Linked DNA regions of Homo sapiens: region 2 is linked to region 1. Evidence: promoter capture Hi-C in human tissues and cell types (Jung and others, 2019). All regions are on one chromosome and are shown on one strand. The core of a region is centred on a gene start or on the middle of the fragment in contact, and the rest is flanking DNA. Distances in the headings are between cores, read along the strand shown. Region 1 holds the start of CHAD (chondroadherin). Region 2 overlaps LOC101927253 (a long non-coding RNA gene).

Region 1 (5,793 bases), core at 1,331-3,830:
TGTGCTCTGGCTCCTCTTTGAGGCTACCCTGGCTGCCCTGAAACAGACAGTGGGCTTGGCAAAAACACACCTCAGACAGGAAGGGAGGCCGCGGAGAAGTTCAGCTGGCAGCCGCTCACAGCCACTGTTCCAGCTCTTCCCCTTTCATGCTTAGCCCACAGAGAACACTCCGGGCCAGGCCTAGCACACCCCTGCTGCTGGGGGGCTCTAGGCATCCTGAGTGAGCCATTTGACTCTCTCACTGAAAGCAACCGATGTCCCAGCTGGGTGCACCCCAGCTGGGTGACGGGAGGTGGGACTTTGGAGTCTTGGTCAGGGGCTCACCTCCGTGTGAGGCATAATTCTGCCCACGCTTTCTGCCTTCTGCTCCACAGTGTCCTCAGGGAAGTGCGCGAATGTCACGGGACTGTTCTCTGTGGTTCCATAAGCAACCTAGAGGGTCCAGAAAGGGTGTTTGAAGAGGGCTCAGCACGTGCAGAGGGATCAGGTGAGCTATCTGAGGAAATGGGAAGGAATTCATAAAAGAAAAGGGAAAGTGGAGGGCAGCCGAATGGTGGAAACAGAGACATCATTGGTAGGGGCCTGGGGTCAGGAGGCAGAGGTGCTGGGAGTGAGCAGACTAGATCTCTGCAGGGCCCCAGATCTGAAAGAAAATTGAGAGCAGGGACACCATTCTCTTCCAGCTGGAGCTCTCTCAGTGCCCCGTTTCCCTGGAGCAGCCACCTGTCTGTGCCTGTGGCTCCGGTATTACCAACACCCCACACTTCTCCCCCCATCCCCTGGCTGCCTTAACCCCACCTTCCTGATTTCAGGCCACATCCCCGGCTCCTCCCTTCCAAGCTGAAGGCCCCATAAACTTGATGAGAAAGCCAGCCTGCCTTGGCCCAGCTAGGAGTGGCACAGACACAACCCCACCCCCGCATTCTGCAAACCCTGAACAAGTGCCTGGCCTTGGGGCAGGCGTCCCCCAAGCTCTGGAGAGTTTCCCGTGAATTTATTTCCATCAAAATAAAAAAACAACCTAAGCAGTGATTTTAAAAACCAGTGGTACCCCCACCCCACCTCCCCCATTTCCAGTGGTTGGAAAGCCTGAGCAACAGAAAAACCAGAAGCCAGCCTTGGAGAAGCCTAAATACCATCAAGGAATGGTCTAGGCCAAGTATGACCCTCCTATCCTAGAGGCAAGGGGCAGAGAGGTTTGGGAAAAGGGCAGGCCCTGGAAACCAGGCCCCAACACGAGGGTACTGGGTAAGGGAAGAGAGGCTAGTTACCCCGTATCCTAGGTCCCCTTTAATCAACGGATACCAGATCTCATCCATCCTCCTCCCTGCACCAAGCTTCCCCCATATCAGCTGCTCTGGCTCTGGCACGGCTGGGGTTTGGTTCAATGTGGGTTCTGGTTTCTCCTTCCACCCCTCATCACAGACAATATCCTGTGCCAGGCAGCTTGGAGCTCACCCTGAGGCCAGAGCTGTGACCCTGCCTGCTCACCCTCCCCTTTCCACAGGAATCCGGACATCGTGGCTGGCAAGTGGGCACACAGAAATCTGGCGGGCTGGGGCGGGACTGCCCACAGAACTTAGGGTCTGGCAGCCAGAGCCGTCCAGGGCTGGTCCCTCGACCTGCCCCACCCCCTCCCGCACCCCTCCTCACAGTCCTGGGGCCACCGCCCGAATGTGGCATCTGCCAAGTACACCTCGGCGCCACTCAGCCGCCACCCTGAGACCCCTCAGGGGCGGGTCCTGACCACTAGGGTTGGGGATGAGGGATGGAGATATTTCGGGGCGATGAAGGAGGGGGGATGGTGCGACTGTGCTTGTGGCCTGTGGTTTCCAGGTGTGTTTGCCATTCCTGTGGGCCACTCTCCCCCACTTCCCACTTCTCTGCTTAGCCTTCAGCGGTGGAAAAAGGGGATGAGGGCGCCGGCGACAGAAACGCAAGCGGGGTTGGAAGAGAGGGGTGGGGGCGCGCCCGAGGGTGGGGAAGGAGCTCGGGTCTACCCAGGGCCAGCTTCGGCGCGTCGAGTCTGAAGTGGGAGACCGACGCCGGGGCGGCTCTCACGCTCGGCAGGCGCCGCACAAGCGCCCCTTTAAAGCGCAGGCAGCTGGCCCACCGCAGGGAGACGCATCCAGCTGTCCGGCCCCGCTTCCTCCCGCCTCGCATCCAGGGCACCCGGCCGAGCGTGTGTGGATGGCGCGGCGTGGAGGCTCAAACCTGAGCAAACAAATAAGTTGAGGGAACGCCTCCCTCTCTCCGATGTAAACTCGGGGCTCCAGACATAACTATTCCCCCTTCCCAGAAAAGCCCCGGGAAAGGCGGTAGGCAGAGGAGCACCATAGGAGAGCGGGGGGCTACAGCCGGGGCTCAGGGCTCGGGGCTCGGGGGCCACGGTCCCACCCCCTCATGCACGGTAGCCGGCTGGGGGAACGGCCCCGCCCCCTTCCCCGTGGAGGGCGGGGGCGCATCTCTGGGCGCGAGCGAGTTAAGCCCAGTGGCCTCGATGCTCCACGTAGGAGCTGGCTCGGCTGCCGGCTGCGGTCAGGGCCACCGTATAAAGAGGGCGGCAGACCCGAGCGCCTAGGACTCGCCGCTGCCCGCGCCCCGCCGCCGCTGCTGCCCCCAGCCCCGGCCCCAGGCGTCCCAGCCATGGTCCGCCCAATGCTCTTGCTCAGCCTCGGCCTCCTGGCTGGTCTGCTGCCGGCGCTGGCCGCCTGCCCCCAGAACTGCCACTGCCACAGCGACCTGCAGCACGTCATCTGCGACAAGGTGGGGCTGCAGAAGATCCCCAAGGTGTCAGAGAAGACCAAGCTGCTCAACCTACAGCGCAACAACTTCCCGGTGCTGGCTGCCAATTCGTTCCGGGCCATGCCGAACCTCGTGTCATTGCACCTGCAGCACTGCCAGATCCGCGAGGTGGCCGCCGGTGCCTTCCGCGGCCTCAAGCAACTTATCTACTTGTACCTGTCCCATAACGACATCCGCGTGCTGCGCGCAGGTGCCTTCGACGACCTGACCGAGCTGACCTACCTCTACCTGGACCACAACAAGGTCACTGAGCTGCCCCGGGGGTTGCTCTCCCCGCTGGTCAACCTCTTCATCTTGCAGCTCAACAACAACAAGATCCGTGAGCTGCGCGCAGGCGCCTTCCAGGGAGCCAAGGACCTGCGCTGGCTCTACCTGTCGGAAAACGCGTTGAGCTCCCTGCAGCCCGGGGCCCTGGACGACGTGGAGAACCTCGCCAAATTCCACGTGGACAGGAACCAGCTGTCCAGCTACCCCTCAGCTGCCCTGAGCAAGCTACGGGTGGTGGAGGAGCTGAAGCTGTCCCACAACCCCCTGAAAAGCATCCCGGACAATGCCTTCCAGTCCTTTGGCAGATACCTGGAGACCCTCTGGCTGGACAACACCAACCTGGAGAAGGTGAGCTCCTGGCTGTGGGCTCTGCCCTGGTTCCTTCTTCCCTTCCTGGAGGCCCCAGGAGCCAGGGCCACAGCTGGCACCATCCCCCGTCCCCAGGTTCCCTGTCCCTCTGGCTATCTCCAAGGTGAGCAGCTCTGCCACCTCCCTTCCTCGCCTTGTCACATCCCTACCCTAATCCCTGTCTGCTGCCAGTCTCGACCACTGCCCTCCTAGGATTCTTACATATAAAAGGAGTGGGACTGCCCTGGCCCCACAAAAGGCCCCCTAGGGCCATCTCCAGTGCTTCCAAACCCCCAACTGTGAGCAGCAGCCACCTCTTCCTGTTGGGCCTTCCACCCCTCCTCTGCTGTTTTTCCCGTCTCCAGTAAACCTACCACCCCATAAAGGAAGGTTTGTTTATTGAGGAGCCTTCCAGAGGAGCTGGGCAGATCAGGCCCACAAAGAGACCCTGTTCCTGGTGGGGGCTGTGCATGTGTGCTAAGGGGGAGTGGGGGACTGGGGAGTGAGGGGAAGCAAATGCCTGAGGAAGACATTCTCCATGCCCCATAGAGGCCCTGGTGGATGGCCCTGCCCAATCCACACAGACACAATTCACTGCATTCTCAAGTCCATTGCAGCTCAGTAGGCGTGGGACCAAGGGCTCCCCCAGGATGCAAGCATCGTGCCCATGGGCTCCGTGAAGGGGCAAAGGCAAGACCACTATTGTCAATCCTTGGCCCAAGACCCCAGGTGTCTCTCCACAGAGAAGACTGGCGTGACTCACTGTCTCCAGACTGCTAACTGCCCTTTGCCCTCCTCCGTCACTAGACCCATCTCCTGTCTGCATCCTCACTCATTCCTTTCTCCCCTGGGGTGCCCAGTGTCTGGCCAGGTGGGGCTACCTTGGATCAGAGCAGAATCCCTTCTCTGGGACTGGAAAAATCACCCTGGTACAGGGGCTTCAGCCAGGAGGTTTGGGTGGGGAACCAACAAGGTAGAGGAGAGTCTGGTTACTGGAGACCTTCATACCTCAATGTGGGCCACAGGAAAGGGTGCGGGTGTGGAGATGTGGGCAGAATCTCACTTGGGCAGCAGCCAACCTTTGTCTGGGTGGAAGGAGCCTGCTCAAGCCTGCCCTTCTTCAGCCCTGCCTCTCCCCAGCTGAAGTTGGAGTCCCCTGTGGCCCACCAGTGCCAGAGTGGTCTTTCAGTGGGCAGCAGAGCAGCGAATTAGGGGCTGGTTTGGGGCAGGGGAGGCCAGACAGGAATTGTGGCGCCTGGGCAAAGGTGTGGGCACCAATAGAACATTTCCTCTGGAGCCGTCCAACCTGGCCAAAGGCTCCACCAAGGTGGCTTCACAAATAGCGTCTGGCTGGCAGTGGGGGAGCAGTGAGGACAGAGCTGAGGGAAGTCCTGGGACCCTGGGACTGTGGGGAGCCTGGGCCCACTGCCCACTCCACCAAGCACAGACCAAGTTCACCGTGTACCAGTTTGGATTGCTGGGGCCAAACTCTGGCAGCCCCACAGTCCCAGTGTTTGTGCAGGGATTGTGGTGCCAGGGGAAGAGGAGCTGGGTGTGGTCCTGTGGCTACTGTTTACCCACTGCTGTGACCCAGGGCAAAGGACTGCGCTTTTTCCGTTTCCCCATTTGCATATTGAAAATAACACCACCTGGCTGGGCGTGGTGGCTCACGCCTGTAATCCCAGCACTTTGGGAGGCTGAGGCGGGTAGATCACGAGGTCAGGAGATCGAGACCATCCTGGCTAACATGGTGAAACTGCGTCTCTACTAAAAAAATACAAAAAAATTAGCCGGGCATGGTGGCGGGCACTTGTAGTCCCAGCTACTCAGGAGGCTGAGGCCGGAGAATGGCGTGAACCCGGGAGGCGGAGCTTGCAGTGAGCTGAGATCGTGCCACTGTGCTCCAGCCTGGGCAACACAGTGAGACTCCATCTCAAAAAAAAAAAAAGGAAAAAAAAAAAAAAAAGAAAATAACACCATCTGTCTCAAAGGGGGTTGTGTAGATTGGATTATCTGAGATCACTTGGTCATACTGCTTTGAAAACTGGGAAACTCCTCAAAGTGCTATGGCTCAGGTTCAGGGAAGGATCCTGCCCCTCTGGCACTCGGGTGCTTACTCATTCACTCATGACCACCTTGCTCCCACCTTGCTCCCACCTTGCTCCCCAGTTCTCAGATGGTGCCTTCCTGGGTGTAACCACGCTGAAACACGTCCATTTGGAGAACAACCGCTTGAACCAGCTACCCTCCAACTTCCCCTTCGACAGCCTGGAGACCCTCGCCCTTACCAATAACCCCTGGAAGTGTACCTGCCAGCTCCGGGGCCTTCGGCGGTAAGAACACTTCCATGTCACTCCCAGAGCCCACCCTCAT
Region 2 (5,793 bases), core at 379-2,878, 160 kb before region 1:
TCTCCCTGGCTTGGTCCCTTTGCAGGAGGGGCACCAGGTGGCACCAGGTGAGGGTGCCCTGTGCCGCCACCTGGTGTCTGATGCCCTCATTGCACTGCTGTTGCCAGCCCCACTCCACGGGCTGCTCAGCTGGCCCAAGGGAAGAGAAAATAGGCCATGGGGCACCAGGCTGTGGCAGGTGGGGACTAGGGTGGAGATAGGAGTGAAAGCTGTTTGGAAAGTGGGTGAGGTTTAGGTAGGGCAGGGTTAGAGGAGAGGAAGAGAGAAGAAGGCGGGATGGGGAAAAGAACAGGTACCATGGGGTTCAAGGGCAGCGTTATGCTGCGGAAGGGTGGAGCCTGGGAACCCACAGTGATTGCAGAGCTACCCTTGGCCAGCTCTTGGACAAGCGCCTGGAGCTGAGGGATGCCTTCTCCTGTGATTGAACTCCTCTCACCACCATTCCCTATGGCCAAAAGCTGGTGGCCCACCAGGTGGGAGGCTGGGGGCCTCTCTAAGCCTCTGAGTTTGCCATGCGGGGAACACGTGTGCATATTTGTATGAACGTGAATGTGACTACTTTGGAAAAGCGCCCACCAGCAAGTCATTTTTTGAGCAGGATTCTTCCCATCGTGCCCCATTTCCTCCACACTGAGAAGAGACAGGAGTAGTGTGGGCTGGAGGTTGGCCAGACGTAGGGTCAAATCTCAGCTCTGCCATCTCCTGGCTGTGTGACCACGGGCAATTCACTTAACCTCTCTGAACCCCGCTGCCTCATGGAGAAATAGCAATCAGACTTCCCTTGCTAGGGTGTGTTGAGGAGTGAGAGACTGCATATGAGCCTCAGATTTGTTTTTATCCCCAGCTCAGCTCACTCCTCTTCCCAGTCCCCACCCCCACACAGACCTTTTCCTGGAGTCTTGGGGGTGGAGGAAGCAGAAACAGCCAAGCTTGAGGTGGGGGCCTACAGCCGCTGTCACAATTTCTTCTGAACCCCGAAGGGGAAGGCTGAGGACAAAGGCACCAGGGTAGATATTCCTAATTCTAAAAGCCCCCACATCCCTGAAGCCCCTAGCCAGTTCCATTCTGCCCCTGGAGTCCTCATCCAAGACCTGCTGCCCCCACCATCCACTCCCCATCCCAGCCTCCTTCATTTTCTCCACCCCCTACCCCCACCCCTTATGTATCCCAGAGCAGCATCAAATAACCACCCAGACAAGCAGCATGAGGTTAGCAGTTTGATATTATTATTAAGATCCAGCGGCAGCTGCTTTTCCACCTCAAAACCCTTTTAATGAGACACAACAGTTTCCATCATTGATAAAGATTTTACATCATTGGGGGGAGAGGTCACAGTTTTCTCCCCGACTACCCCAAAATACCCGCTTTGACTCTGTTGTTAATATTTCCACATCACTATCCAGAGGCTCCCCTCCAGGCACTGCCCTCTTCCAGAGAAACCCTCCAGGCCACAGAGAGGGCTGCTGGGGAGGGAATAGGGGAACCTTTTTGTTTTCACTGGGCTGGTCCCTGCAGATCTCTACAGAGCAACCCAAAAGCATAGTAAGTTCACCCCAAATTCCTTGGTCCCTACTGGGAAGAGGAGGCCAGGGGAAGAGGAACGCACAAAGAACCAGGCATGCTAAGACTCAACCTAAGCAACTCTCCAGTACTCTAGTGCTGCTGGGCTGGTGGTCGGGAGCGGGGAGAGGGGGTGCTGGAAGAGTGGGGAGGGGTAGGAGTCCAGCTCTCTGGCTTCACCTTGACCCAGAATCTTCTAACCACTAGGAGAATGAAAGATCCCAGAACCCCCTCCCCATACCCTCCAACGTCATTAGGGAATAGACAGCTATAGAATTCTACAAAAATATAAAAGCTTAGTCTGCAGATCCAGGTGACAGAACTCTAGGAATTTTGTACAGCTTTGCTTTTTTTATCTTAAATGGCAGCTCCTACAAGCACTCCCTCTCCCCACCCAAGGAGGCCAGAGGAAAAAGTTTGACATTATTGCACACCCTAAAAGGATAAAACCAGGCTTTGGCTTCAAGGAGCGGTATGAGTTCTGTCCAAAAGAGCAATGAGAAAAGCTCTCACCCAGCTTAGAAAACAATGCTGGACAACGCCTCCAGGTCCACTCGCCCGGCAGCCTGGTGCCCCCAGCTCCCAGTTGACCGGATCAGACGGTTTGTGAGCGAGCGTTGCCACTGAGGTTTCAAAAACCCAATCCAATCCTGGGGTTTGAAGGCCCTGGGGGCGAGGGGAGGGGGCTGTTCAAGGGAGTGGGATTGGGACAGATGTTTGGGAGGTGGCTAGGTGACAGGCTGGCTGGACCCATGGTCACCACCTCTTGGCACCAAGATTTCAGACAAGAGAATATTGTCTGCAGTAGCACCAGACAGGTGGCCTGGGCCACGCCACTCCCCCTCTTCCTGTCTGCCTGCCCCTGGCCACCTTCACACCTCCCTCCTCCACTGGCTCCCGCTAGGCAGGCAGCAGCAGCAGTGCATGTAAACATCTTGAGCGCTCGCTCATCACCGCCCAGGGGGCCAGCTCCCCACTCAGCACCTGGCCTCTGACCCTACCACCTCCACCAGGAGGTTGCCTCTGGACGCCCAGCCCTGGACTCTCATCCTCAGGAAGCACAGCCCACTCCGTTGACACGGTTTAATTCCATTGCGGGCAGGTGGACGAGGTCCCCATCGGACAGTGCCTGTAATGCCAGTCAGCTAAGCCCGCCCCCAAGGCAGGAGGCTGAAGTCCAGACAGCTCAGGTCACGCATCCAGCCAGAAGTGTGGCAAATCCGTGCTGAAGCTTCAGGAAGGAAAACCCAGAAACACTTCCCCCCTCCCCCACCAACCCACAGATCCAGATCTGCAGCCTCTGAGGCAACCTCCCCCAGCCTCAGTCGGCCCCATTAACCAAAACAGCTTCATTATGCCAATTTCCAGCTTTCAATGTGCGGCTGATAGCTGTCAGCAGAAATAAGAGTTAATCTGGAATTACTCCCATTCACTGAGCTGCCTAGCTAGAGGAAGCTGTAAAGCTTTGATAGCAGCAGAAGAGACCCTGCCTCCCCAGCCTGCACCAGGCGGAGGGGCTCCTCCTCTCCTTCACGGCTGGGGAGGGCAGGCTAGAGGTGCAGCCTTCCACAGCAAGGGGTTCAGGTTCTCTCACTCTCAGACACACACACTCTCACACTCATATACACACACGCACTCATATACACAAACACATACACACTCATACACACACAAAGAGGCAGCCCTGAAGCTTCCCTCCCCGCCGCCCACTCCCCATCTCCAGGATCTCTCTCTCATCAATGCCATCTGGACGTGCCTAACTCTCCATCCCTTTTGCTTTTACTCTGGACCGTGATTAGCTTTTTATTTAGGAAAATTACTTTATTTTATATATATATAGATAGATAGATAGATATGTATGTATGTATATATAAAAAGGTTCCATTTCACTTGTAAAATCTCATTTTTTCTTTTTCTTTTTTTTTTCCCTACAGAAAATGATGACGAGGTTAAAGGAAAAAATAAGTTACATTACAGTTTCCAAAATGGTTCTCGCTCTCCGCTGAAGATGGGCCACCGTTGGGGCTGCAATGTGCTCGCGGTCCCAGCTTGTGCTTTGCAAGAAGAGGGAATATAACTAGACTGTTATTTTAGGTTAAAATAGCCAAGAGACAGACGCCTTCGCCTCAAAAATATTCTGAGACACATAAAAGTAGAAGGAAACAAGTCTCTTCAGTCACAAAATGTCGTACATCCCGCATATACTAGATTCAATTAATTTAATAAAATAGAATATACATAGAGATTCTGCACAAACGTATTGCTTTCTCCCAACAGCTTCTGGTGTCGGGAACCTCAGCTGCACCGGGCCTCTCCTTCTGCCTGGAGCCAGAGTTGCCGGGGCTGCTGCTTTTAACTCTCTTTGGAAGTTCTGCTTGCAGGTACCCAGAGCCACTGAGGCAGGGAGGAGCGCCTCCGCCTCCTTGGTGTCTATATGGAACTTTTGTCAGGAATATAGCCCAGGAGGAGGAGCTAGGACTTGGCACCCAGTGGAGAAAGGTGAGTGGGAAAGTGGGGCAGGACTCAGGGGTCCAGGTCTGCTGGGTCAGAGGATAAACCGGAGAGACTCAGCACATCTTTCTTTGGGGAGGGCGAGGCAGCCATGCTGTCAGGGGGGCCAGAGGCCAAGGGATCCTTGGAGTCGCTGGACGGAGCCCTCCTCCGGAGGCAGATACCAGGGCTGGGCGGGGTCCGAGGACCTTGGCTCTCGGGGGGGTCTATGGTGATACTAGGCGGGCTGAGTTTTTTCTTGGGCCGGCTCCCAGGCCCCCCAAGAGGCTGGCCCCCAAGGTTAGAGGGGTCTGTGCCCAGGTGGGGTTGGGAGCCGCTGTCCAGGCAGCTGACGGCGATAGAGTGTCTCCTCTGCTCATCCAGCCAGGACGTAGGCCGGCGCTGGCAGCTCTGGGCCTCCACGCTGTAGCACTTCTTCAGGTCCCGTGGGGATGGGGGCTCCTCCTGGCCGCCAGGGGGCAGGAGGTCTCCTGAAATCCAGCTCAGCTCCGTGTCCAACTCTAAGCTGCTTCTGGTCTCTGGAGGGCCCTTGCCCCAGTTGGGTTCTGGGCCTGGGCAAGGGGCTGGCGGGGTCATGTGCTTGGAGATCTTGCTGTGGCTGCGGGAGTGCTGCTGTGCCTGGGTACTTGACTGGCCCCAGAAAGAGTAGGCCCGGGCCAGGGGCGGGGAGGGCCCACTCACCTCTGCCAGCAGGTCTTCCCGGCTGCCCAGACCCTGAACGTCCAAGGAGTCAGTCCTTATTGCTGCCTATATGGGGTGGGGGAGGGCTCAGCCCAGCAGTCTCCTCTCCAGCATGGACTAGCCCTCCTGTCAAGCTGGCTGTGCCCCCTGCCCACCACCACCAGGCACAGCAGGACTATCCTAAGCAGAGGTCCTGGTAGCCGCTCTTACTAGTAGATAGGGGTCATTGCAGCCTGACCTCTGTTGTCCACCATGCCTCCTCTCTCCCCACTAAACCCTGTCTTCCCTCCCCCATGCTCTGGTCTCCCCTAAGCCTGCAAGAATCGCTCTCTCTGCAGCCCCTGCCTCCTGGGATATGAGAGAAGCCAGGCCATCTCTGCTCACTGAGCTGGCTCCTTCACGCCTCCCCGCCTCTGCCTAGACTTCCCCTTTGGCTCTGAATACCCTTCCTGATTGGCAAGAATCCCTCGATTTTACGGACTCAGGTTCTCTGTGACACAGTGTGTGACAGTCTCTGTCCCCAAGTAAAACCGACCCCTTCCCCTTCTGTGTCCCTGCTGCCCTCCACACATAGGTGTCTGGCAGCTGTGAGCTGAGGCTGCAATGATCTGATGGCAGGCATGTCTCCACTATTAGACTGTGAGCTTCAGGGGGCAGGGGCTGTGTCGCCAGTGCCTGGCACACAGAGGCTGCTTAGTGACTATTTGCAGAATGAATAAGGACTGTGCCTGCTCCCCCAAGCATGTGGGATTGAGATTCTCATGTGTCCACGCTCATGCCTCAGGACACACACATGGCATGGGCTGTGGCCTTATCACAGGTGGGCTCTGGGGCCGGGCGCGGTGGCTCACGCCTGTAATCCCGGCACTTTGGGTGGCCGAGGCGGCCAGATCATCTGAGGTTGGGAGCTCGAGCTCAGCCTGACCAACATGGAGAAACCCCATCTCTACTAAAAATACAAAATTATCCAGGCATGGTGGCGCATGTCTGTAATCCCAGCTACTCGGGAGGCTGATGCAGGAGAATCACTTGAACCCAGGA

The links. The method cuts DNA at HindIII sites, captures the fragments that hold promoters and counts their contacts. A contact is called where the count stands out against the background at its distance.
Region 2: a fragment that was not itself captured here is called in contact with the fragment with the promoter of CHAD in region 1 in 1 of the 25 tissues and cell types used here (spleen).

What each region holds. Positions count from the first base shown.
Region 1 is chr17:50,465,667-50,471,459 of GRCh38, reverse strand. CHAD (chondroadherin) reads left to right here and starts at 2,580. Exons shown (of 4, transcript NM_001267.3): 1 at 2,580-3,420; 2 at 5,590-5,753. The coding sequence starts at 2,647. It overlaps ACSF2 (acyl-CoA synthetase family member 2), which reads right to left. Exons shown (of 16, transcript NM_025149.6): 11 at 325-432. RefSeq lists enhancers at 1,707-2,664, 2,665-3,623. The HindIII fragment of the contact is 15,801 bases long and covers 1-5,793 here.
Region 2 is chr17:50,625,042-50,630,834 of GRCh38, reverse strand. It overlaps LOC101927253 (a long non-coding RNA gene), which reads left to right. Exons shown (of 2, transcript XR_243718.2): 2 at 3,495-3,805. It overlaps CACNA1G (calcium voltage-gated channel subunit alpha1 G), which reads right to left. Exons shown (of 38, transcript NM_018896.5): 38 at 3,361-4,818. The coding sequence ends at 4,084. Among named protein-coding and RNA genes, the nearest start is that of ABCC3, 6.9 kb to the left of the region's middle. RefSeq lists an enhancer at 4,514-5,286. The HindIII fragment of the contact is 3,018 bases long and covers 120-3,137 here.